Linked DNA regions of Homo sapiens: region 2 is linked to region 1. Evidence: promoter capture Hi-C in 16 types of primary human blood cells and fetal thymus (Javierre and others, 2016). All regions are on one chromosome and are shown on one strand. The core of a region is centred on a gene start or on the middle of the fragment in contact, and the rest is flanking DNA. Distances in the headings are between cores, read along the strand shown. Region 1 holds the start of WSB1 (WD repeat and SOCS box containing 1). Region 2 overlaps VCF1 (VCP nuclear cofactor family member 1).

What was found. The method cuts DNA at HindIII sites, captures the fragments that hold promoters and counts their contacts. A CHiCAGO score of 5 or more calls a contact.
Region 2: a contact is called between a fragment that was not itself captured here and the fragment with the promoter of WSB1 in region 1, in 1 of 17 cell types (fetal thymus). The highest score is 5.0, in fetal thymus.

Annotation. Positions count from the first base shown.
Region 1 is chr17:27,291,415-27,296,819 of GRCh38, reverse strand. WSB1 (WD repeat and SOCS box containing 1) reads right to left here and starts at 2,706. Exons shown (of 9, transcript NM_015626.10): 1 at 2,385-2,706. The coding sequence starts at 2,424. It overlaps MIR4522 (microRNA 4522), which reads left to right and starts at 2,824; the gene lies at 2,824-2,910. RefSeq lists enhancers at 2,428-2,487, 2,498-2,557, 2,928-2,977 and a silencer at 2,678-2,887. The HindIII fragment of the contact is 5,795 bases long and covers 1,790-5,405 here.
Region 2 is chr17:73,226,018-73,231,422 of GRCh38, reverse strand. VCF1 (VCP nuclear cofactor family member 1) reads left to right here. Exons shown (of 4, transcript NM_001098832.2): 2 at 4,159-4,258. Among named protein-coding and RNA genes, the nearest start is that of VCF1, 3.7 kb to the left of the region's middle. RefSeq lists enhancers at 1-312, 2,394-2,443. The HindIII fragment of the contact is 3,216 bases long and covers 1-2,858 here.

The sequences.
Region 1 (5,405 bases), core at 1,457-3,956:
GTTTAATGTTAGCAACAGAAATGTATGATTTAATGACCTTATTAAGGGAAAGGCTGCCATGGGAAATCAGCCGTAAGATACAACACTACATTATTAATATCTGTAAAACAGTAACATACCATCTGAGTCACTGCTGAACCAAGCAAACCAGATTTAGCTCCTTCTTTACATTCCTCCCCAAAATTTCATAACCAGAAAGGGATGATCTGTGGCAGTGCCTTGTGAAAAAGGGCAGTAGCTCAAGGCAGTAGTATCACAGAATTATTTAATCATTCATGGAAATCTTGCCTCTACTCTCCGTATGTCCTTGAGAAACTAAACTTGGCTTGGCTTTTAATTAACACCCAAGAAAAGAAAAAAAGTAAATCCTTATTCATAGATTTAAAAAGCTACGCAGAGAAATGTTCAACCTTGTATCCAAATGATAATTCAAAAAAAGAAACAAAGAAAAAAACTGGGGTTAAAAAAAGCTCAGAAAAAGCAAAAGTTCTTCTAGATATCTGGCACTTAGCTAGTAAGTTTTTATAACGTATCCAGGAAATAACACTGAGACCTAAATATGAAAAAAAAAAAGAAAGAAAAGAAAAGAGAAATCAGGGGGCTAGTGGGGGAACACTTAGTGGATGGTTCTACTTTATGTAGGTATGCTATCCATCTCTATCCATCTCTTAGAAAACAAAACCGGAAATCTGGGCGGGGTGGCTCACGCCCGTAATCCTAGCACTTTGGGAGGCAGAGGTGGGCGATCACCTGAGGTCGGGAGTTCGAGACCAGCCTGACCAACATGGAGAAACCCCATCTCTACTAAAAACACAAAAATTAGCCGGGCGTGTGCATGCCTGTAATCCCACCTACTCAGGAGGCTGAGGGAGGAGAATCGCTTGAAACCGGGAGCCGGAGGTTGCAGTGAGCCGAGATCGTGCCATTGCACTCCAGCCTGGGCAACAAGAGCAAAAACTCCATCTCAAAAAAAAAAAAGAGAGAGAGAAAACAGGACCGCAAAGTTTTCAAAATGGTTTATCAGGATGAAGTAAAATACAGATTTAAAAAAAAGGCAGATCACTCGTCTATAACATTATGGTGTACTAAAGTAAAAGAAAAACCCACTGGACTGATAAGAACTTTTGAGTTCTTTGTCCCACTTCGCGACATACTTTCTAGTCTTAAAATACAGTTAAAATAATAACTGGACACAAATTCTGTGTTCTTTGCATCTTTTTTTTTCTTTTTTCTGTGTGAACTCTGCTACAATTTTTTCCCTTTTTTTTCTGTGTTTGTATCTTTAAAAATGGTTATTAAAACCAGGGTTAAAGTCCCTTCCTAATCAATCATCCCTAAGACAACAAAAGTCCAGAATTCTAAAACAGCTGTTTCTAGATATAAAAATTCACCCACATACAAAATAGTGCGCGTTTTGGCTACTTCAGCCTCTTCCCTTCTCTAGAAATAACTCCTCCTTGTACTTAGTAAAGGCACACATTCACTTCAAGAGTAGGAAAATGTAAATGCTCTCTGCTCAGCGGCCGCAGCTAATTATTACTTCACACAGTAAGATCAGTGTTTGCTAAGTGTTATCAGCCAATGTACAGCACCCCCCAACACCGTCAAACGTTGTTCCAGTTATTTTACTTTAAAAGAGGATTTAAATAATGCGACGTGCTTTCCACTGAGCCACTAAGTAGGTGTGGACGCACAACCTTCAACACTAATTGCCCTTTACTAAGCCGACCAGGGCTAGACACTAAGCCAGAAAAGCCTTTTCCAGAGTTTCCTCTTCCGCACAAAAGCTTTCCTTCTGTCACTCCACCCAACCACCCAGCTCCTCCCTTAAGTGTTTGAAAGATAATTCTAAAAGTCTCCTCCCCCGAACCGCTGCGTTTCTTAAGGCCACACCATTTTAAAAATACTGTATTGCTTTTGCCAGGCTGTTGGGACCTCTTCCATCTCATTTCTATCTAAGAGTGGTTGGTACACACGAGGACCCCCTCCTTTCATTACCGCTTACAACCCACAAGTTTACTTTTCCCCATTGTAAACCTAAAGTCCCTGAGTGGCCCTTCCCTGTCCACTCGACAGTCATGCCCTGAGCCAAGAACTCCCAGGACAAGAGCCCTGCGCGGACCTCCGACGAAGAAACCGGGGTCCTTGCCCGCCCCAGCCACACAGCAACCGCGAGGGAGCACAGTAGGTGCTGCATCCACGTCGGTGCCGTTTACCCCTCAGCCAACTCCCACCGAGGCGGCTTCCTCCTCCTCGCTAGTGGGCTGGCCCTGGCGCACTGGAGCTCTTCCCTCAGACTTGGAGTCGCTTCCTCCCAAACCTCCTCCGGGGAGTCCCTGCCTCTCCTCGGCCCTCATGCGCCCACCCACGGTCCCAATCCTCACCGATCTCTTTCTCGTTGACCCTCGGGGGAAAGCTGGCCATCTATGGGGCACCGTCTGATTCCGGGAATACGATGCGGACCCAACAACAGAGAAGAGAGTGGCGACCGCTGAGGGGCGTGACGCCAAGTTGGTCCCTCCCGGGCCCAGGGACAGAGGAGACGGGCGGGGGCGGCCGCTGCGGCTTCTGCTAACTGCCTCGGGAAAGCTCCCGAAGGCCTCAGACCAAAGTACGGAGTCAACCACAGACAATAGACCCTGTACCCAGCCTCGCGCCTGCGGAGGAAGACAGTTCCCCTAAAGCGCCGACTGCAAACGAGACACTGGAGTCAAAATGGCGGGCGGCGCCGGAGATATCTGGGCGGCAGGGGCGCGGCCACGTGACGTCACAGCCCGAGGCCCCCGCCTCCCGACGCACGGGACGTGATCTCCCCGGCCCGGCGCGGGCGTTGCCTGGGGGCCTCGCAGGGGGAGATCCAGCCCAGGCTGGTTCCGCTGACTCTGCCTGTAGGCCGGTGGCGTCTTCTGGGCCTGGATGGTCTAATATGGAGTTTATAAGCTGAAGTGGCTTTGAAAAGGGCAAGCAGAGAATTGTATTATTATTAGCCTCCTAGCTTAAAGATTGCATGGAACTTAAACTGGCTGAACCAAAAGAACAAAAAGACATTTCAGGTTTTCACTCAATTTGGCCAACTCCCCAGCCCACAAGTAATAGGGAACTGAAGGATGCACTGATGAAAAAGACAGGATGAAAATTAACATCGTTGTGCACCACCTGTCCAGCTGCGATTGTTCAGACCTGAGCCAGCAGGTTTTAGGAAGGGCCGAGGGGAACGAGAAGGAGACTCGGGCGTGATCGCGCCGCACCGCGCCGCGGGGCCTCTCTGGACTGCCTTTGTCCTGGCCAAGATGGATCCCACTGTCCTGGCCAAGATGGATCCCACTGTGTCAGCTCAGAATTGGCCCTTCCTCCACCTTACCTGAAGGCCTCTGGGAGGCACCTAGTTGTCCACACATCAGACTGATAAATGTGTCAGTATCTGCTAGATGCCAGCTTGGTTCCCGGTCACAGATGACGTATTTGCATTTTAATGGCTTCTCGTGTGGACCCTAAACATTGCAAAGGCCTGGGGCGTATAAGACTGGGAATTCAAATATGTGGCAGATATTCATGGGACAGAGTAGAGTGTTGCATAGCCGCTTTTTTTTTTTTTTTTTTTTTTTTTTTTGAGACGGAGTCTCGCTTCTCCCAGGCTGGGGTGCAATGGCGTGATCTTGGCTCACTGCAACCTCCGTTTCCCGGGTTCAGGCAATTCTCCTGCCTCAGCCTCCCCAGTAGCTGGGATTTGTACAGGCATGTGACACCAAGCCCGGGTAATTTTTGTATTTTTAGTACAGAGGGCGTTTCACCCTGTTGGCCAGGCTAGTCTCGAACTCCTGGCCTCGAGTGATCCGCCCGCCTCAGCCTCCCAAAGTGCTGGGATTACAACGTGAGCCACCACGCCCGGCTGCATAGCCGCTTTTAAGAGATCTCAAATGATAACACTGTAGGGCATGTTTACTTCATCTTTTCTTTGCATGAGTGTATTAATTCTTCAAATAGCGAAATGTTTAATAAAACATCGCCCCTCCTTTTTTTTTTTTTTGGTTATTTATTTATTTTTTTTTTTGAGACGGAGTCTTGCTCTGTCTCCCAGAGCAGAGTGCAGTGGCGCCAACTCGGCTCACTGCAACCTCTGCCTCCCGGGTTCAGGCGATTCTCCTGCCTCAGCCTCCCGAGTAGCTGGGACTACAGGTGGCTGCCACCACGCCCAGCTAATTTTTTTCATCCTTTTAGTAGGGAGGGGGTTTCACGATATTGGCCAGGCTGGTCTTGAACTCCTGACCTTGTGATCTGCCCACCTCGGCCTCTCAAAGTGCTAGGATTAGAGGCGTTAAGCTACTGCGCCCTGCCTGCCCCTCGTCTTTAAAAAAAAATCACTTTGTTAGGCTGGGGGCGGTGGCTCACGCCTGTAATCTCAGCGCTTTGGGAGGCTGAGGCGGGTGTCAGGAGTTCGAGACCAGCCTGGCCAACATGGTGAAACCCCCATCTCTACTAAAAATACAAAAAATTAGCCAGGCGTAGTGGCGAAGTCCCAGCTACTCTGGAGGCTAAGGCAGGAGAATTGCTTGAAACCGGGAGGCAGAGGTTGCAGTGAGCTGAGGTTGCACCACTGCACTCTAGCCTGGGTGACAAGAGTGAAACTCTGTCTCAATAAATAAATAAATCAATAAATCACTTTGTTAGCTTCAGTCAACGATATCTTGAGGACTCACTCTGTATCAGGCACTGGGCCTAGTTGCTGAATTTTTAGAGTAGAACAAAAGAAAAACTTTAATGCAGTCTTGTAGCTCATGTACCAACATTCATATCAGTCTGAGTTAATTCTTTTAACCAACTGCTATTATCCCTGTTACTTGTACTATACCATACAAATTCATGGGAAATACCAGTTTTTGAGTGTCCAACAGTGAATTATTGTGATGACTTTTTCTTTTTTTTTTTCTCCCTGAGATGGAGTCTCACTCTGTCGCCCAGGCTGGAGTGCAGTGGCACGATCTCGGCTCACTGCAACCTTTGCCTCCTGGGTTCAGGTGATTCTCCTACCTCAGCCTTCCGAGTAGCTGGGATTACAGGCACACGCCACCATGGCTGGCTGATTTTTGTATTTTTAGTAGAGACGGGATTTCACCATGTTGGCCAGGCTGGTCTCAAACTCCTGACCTCAAGTGATCTGCCCGCCTTGGCCTCCCAAAGTGCTGGAATTACAGGCGTGAGCCACCCCGGCCAGACTTTTTAATACAATTGTTTAATTTCTATTTTAGTTTATTCCTGCAAGCCAACAGACTTCCTGGCCATTTTCTCAACTGGCAAAGCATGACAATGGAATGAAAAATAATTTTATGATTTGTGTACTCATTAGTAATAGATACTTCTAAGCACTGAGCCATATAAGTGCTTCTGTGGATTAACCGATTTCATGC
Region 2 (5,405 bases), core at 1-2,500, about 46 Mb before region 1:
GCCTCGGGACGCGGGTCTTAAATTAGGGGTTCTGTGCTTGACATGTACTACTAGAGTCCGGACTAAGTTGGGATTTCTTAATTTTTTTCTCTCTCTTAATTTCCTCTGCAAGAATGTGTGGAGGAGAAAGTTGGGAAAGGTTACCTCAGAATGCTCTTCCTGTTACGGTCTTTCCACAAGGATCCTTCTCTGAAATAATTATTTCATGTGATTGAAGTTCTCAAAAGTATTCTGAGTTTATTTGGTCCCATAGTGAAAACCTAGGGTTCCCCAAGCTGCTGCATTGGATTATTGATTTGGGTCATGTAGCAGGTGGAGCATAAAGCCTCTCCTTGTATAGAAAAGAAGAGTGGACTAAATTTGAAATTGGGGGCCCAATTACAGACATGCCATCGGAATTAGGAGCAAGATCTTTAGATACAGTGAATCTGACCCGACTGCCATATTATTCTTTCCCAAACCCAGTTTATACTTACGATATTCTCTTGGGGTGTCTCACATATCTGAAAAAAAATCTAAATATTTCCTACAAATAAAAATTCTACTGTACATAACTAATCTGAATGCATTTATACTGGCAGTAGATTCCTTTTATCTTGTACACAAATAATCTCAACATGTTTTAAAGAAGTTATTTGATTTGGACAGGCTTTTCCTGCCAGTGTTTAATGGAGTATGATGGGCCAGCTCTGCCAGCTCTAGGATGGTCTAAGACGGTGGTTTTTCGGCTGGGTGCGGTGGCTCACGCCTGTAATCCCAGCACTTTGGGAAGTCAAGGCGGGCGGATCACCTGAGGTCAGGAGTTGGAGATCACTCTGGCCAACATGGTGAAACTCTGTCTCTACTAAAAATACAAAAAAATTAGTTGGGCCTGGTGGTGGGCACCTTCATCCCAGCTACTTGGGAGGCTAAGGCAGGAGAATCGCTTGAACCTGGAAGGCGGAGGTTGCAGTGAGCGGAGATCACTGCACTCAAGCCTGAGCAACAAGAGCGAAACTTCCATCTAAAAAAAAAAAAGGGTTTTCAGGCTCTCCCACAGTAGATTGGATAGCCGCAGAGAGGTGAGTGTGTAGTGAGGGAGTCCCTGCTTATTGATTGATTGATTGGTTGATTGATTGACTGATTGATTGACAGAGTCTCACTCTGTCGACCAGGCTGGAGTGCAGTGGCCCCATCATGCCTCACTGCAGCCTCAACCTCCCAGGCTCAGGTGATCCTCCCACGTCAGCCTCCTGAGTAGCTGGAGCACAGGTGTGAGCTACCACACCCAGCTAATCTGTGTATTTTTGGTAGAGGTGGGGTTTCACTATATTGCCCAGGCTGGTCTTGAACTCCTGGGCTCAAGGGATCCACCCGCCTCGGCATCCCAAAGTGCTGGGATTACAGATGTGAGCCACCTCACCAGACTGGGAGTCCCTACTTTAACAGATCCTTTATCTCTTATATAGAGAGAATTTTTTTACAGTAAGAAAGAAAGAGTTCTGTTACTTTTTAAAATAAAGTTTGAAAACCACTAGTTTCCATACTCTTTTTTTTTTTTTTTTTTTTTTTTTTTGAGATGGAGTCTCACTGTGTCGGCCAGGCTGGAGTGCAGTGGTGCGATCTCGGCACACTGCAACCTCTACCTCCTGGGTTCAAGCAGTTCCCCTGCCTCAGCCTCCCAAGTAGCTGGGATTACAGGCACACGCCACCACGCCCTGCTAACTCTTTTGTATTTTTAGTAGAGACAGGGTTTCACCATGTGGGCCAGGCTGGTTTCGAACTCCTGACCTCAAGTGATCTGCCTGCCTCAGCCTCCCAAAGTGCTGGGATTACAGGTGTGAGTCACCGTGCCCAGCCCATACTCTTAAGATTATTTCTATGCCGAGTCTCTAGGAGATGACAGGAAGGTTGGAGAGAAATGAAATAATGCAACGTGATGGAATCAACCATCTGTAGAAGTAACAGATGCTAACTGGTAATCTGCACCTAGATGGTTAGGGAAGAATATAATCAGTTATAGGGGTGCCTGCTAAAATCATAACCTGGTCTGTGGCATTAATGCCAAAAATTGTAATCTGATTGATTGAACTGATAGGGATGAGCATGAAGCTGTAATCTTGCCAGTTGTTAACACCATTGTTGAAAGAAGAATGTTTCAAGGATGAGATCTGCTAAGAGCCTAGAAAAAGGCAAATGAAGAGCAGGTAGGACTCTTTCTTAATCTGGTACCATCCAGAGGAGAAGGCTACCAACAGGCCAAAGAGATTATTCTGGTGCCTTGAGAGATCAAGTAATTTATGAGGCAGGGATATTTCATGTGACTCTCCCAGAGATTAGTTGAAATCCACAAAATCATCTCATCTTTTTTTGTTCTTACAGTCCCTCTGCCATGCAACCTCCTTGACATTCATAGTCTTGTCCCTGGAAAGATCTATCCCCCATTATAAATGAGGAGATAGCAAATTTTGATCAGGCTCCTAAGTTTGGTTAGAGTGACTCAGCAGCCCAAAGCCCAGTCAGCTGTTGGCACGCTGATAAAATGGGTGTGTGAGGACCAGCAGCTGCTACTTACTCAATGACTTTCTCTTTGGGTGTCGACTGGCCTCCCAGCAGACATTGCTTTGCCTCTGCAGAACACTCCCACTCAAATTCCCTGATCATATTAGGATGAAATTAGCAGTTTCTTGGTTCAAATTTATGATAAAAGCACACCCATTTAATGATTATTAAAACCTGATATTCATCTATTTTTTTTTAACCTCCAACTACTTCAAAGTAATGTGCAGCTAAGATCTGATCTCCTAAGAGAAAGGTGGGGAGCAGAAATGTCTTAGAATGAAGTAAATTACATAGCCCAGTGCAGGATGGTTGAAGCTTTATCAGAACCACACACTCTTTATTATTCCAAACTTAAGCTGGGATCCATACTCATTATTAAAGTTAGACCTATTCAGAATGTTGCAGAGTACAGAGAAGTGAGCTTAGGGTGATCATTTATTTTCTCTAATATTCAAACCTCAACTCAAAACCTTTAGGATTAAAGGCCTGCCACTGTAAGCCACCCTACTCTCATAGAAAGTGTATAATTATTTAGAAGACACTATATCCTCCAAATGTACATGCTTTCCAAGAGCTGTGTGTCCACACTAGCCTTTTGTCTCTTAACTATAGAAAGCTGAAACTTCAAGGGTTTTGTAATAGGTGCTGCTGCCATGTACATACAGACCTCTAGCCTGTGCTGCTCCGGAGAACGTTCTGCAGTGACGGAAATGTCCTTTATCTGTGCTGGTCAGTGCAGTAGCCACTAGCTACACGTGGCCACTGAGCACTAGAAACAGGGCAGCTGTGACCTAGGAACTGGATGGTTAATTTTAGTTAATTTAAATGTAAATAACCATATGTGGCTAGTGGCTACCGTATTGGACAGTACAGTTCCGGGCAATTTGACTGAAAATTATACCTCCTTTAATTTATTTCTGTTTTCTAACAGGTTCAGAAATCGTTTTGACAGCACATAATTCTTAAATAGAGTACATGCAAATTTGGTCTTTCTTGCATGTCCGAGAACACTTGCCTAAGAAAGATGTGTGATTTTTCTTTAAACCTGGAAATTTTAAGCAGCTTATGCTATCATCTCATAGTAACAATCTAGTGAAGTAATTGTTATATCATAATACCGGCTAGTGTTGCCAGAATAAGCAGGTGAATGTGACCAAGAGGTACTTTTATAAGGGTTTTCAGGGCAAATAGGCAAAGGCAGCCACTCTTATATCAAATGTTGTCATATGGAAGGGAGTACAATTAGGTAACTCGGAATCCTAATTTCAGGGAGTGTAAAAAGAAGAAAACCTTAATTAGGTTAGAGGTTGAAAGCTTAGTCATTAACCTCTTCCTGTTCTTGTTTCAGTCCCAACAGACATTTAAAATTGTTAAGCTTCTTTTTAGAAATGAGTTTTACTAACTTAAGCTTGACCTCGCTGCTGCTGTCTTGTATTTTTGCTCTTAGTGTCCAGTGATGCTGTACTTCCAACTGATAACCTATTGGGATATCATATGCTGAATTATGTTTTCTCAGGCCAGAGGGCAAATTTATATGTTGTTATGGTTTGCAATTCAAGTGTCCAAAACATCGGTTGTTTGGGTTTTTTTTTTTTTCTCCTTGTGATTTAATTTCAGGAAAAGGAGAAGGAATGGCAACGAAGAAGACAACCATCTTCCCCCCCAGACCAAAAGAAGTAGCAGAAACCCTGTCTTTCAGGATTCCTGGGACACAGAGGTAGGAAGTGTGGTCACATAGTCTGTTGTTTTCACTGCTTGAGTTAAATAACCTAGTATCTGCTGTGTAATTAAATTTACTTAAACAGTAATTTAAAATGACCTTAGTTGATTATACTGGTTTAACCTTTCTGTTTCCAAATCAGGGTCCCTTTGAGGAAGCTGTGTACCCTGTCCCCAGCAAAACAGTACATATGTGCACATAGTCATATATGTACACACTCATTTGTATTTGTTAGAAATTTCGTGGCTTTTTGAAAGCCTATGTTTGAACTCACTGTTTTGTATTTCAGCAGCGAACTTCTTTTCTGGTAGTTTATAAACCATGAATTGTCCTTAAGATAAACATATTTTGTTGCTTCAATTCAAATGCCTTTTAAGAGAAACTTTAAGCATGTAAAATATGTAAGGTATGTGTATGCAGAATCCCATTTCTCAGTGTTTTTACTTTTCATTATCTTGTTGTGAAAAGAGCTCCTGTGGTGAGAGGGAAGGGGAGTTGGGTGTTCTGGAACTTTTTTACAATTTTTGATTTCATGAAAGAGTGCTTCAGTACGCAGACTGAGGATACATTTTCTGTGCAATTGGAAGGCTGCTCTGTGCTGGGGAAAGGAAACCAATATAAAGTAATGCTGCTATTAAGTTATGCACCTAGAGATTTTGACCCTTAACAGTTGTCACACTAAGAGAAAAGCCTCAACAACAAAGAGCCCTAGCCTCATAACTCACAGTAGAATTCTCCCACACCCAAATAATTTGTACTTTAATTAGTTCCTGATAATAGGATTTGACCTATATCCAGTCTGTCTTTGCCAGCAATTCAAAGTAACTCCCCCAAGGGGGAAAAATCAGGAACTTTCATGTAGGTAACAGTCATTCAGAGACAGTGAACAAGTGCAGAGTAGAATCCTTCTGTGTGGAGACCTGAGTTTCTATAGCTGTTTTTCCTCTTCAAATATTTTCCTGGCCGAGCGCAGTGGCTCATCCCTATAATCCCAGCCCTTTGGTAGGCCAAGGTGGGCAGATCACGAGGTCAGGAGTTCGAGACCAGCCTGGCCAACATGGTGAAACCCCATCTCTACTAAAAATACAAAAAATTAGCTGGGTGTGGTGGTGCACGCCTGTAATCCCAGCTACTTGGGAGGCTG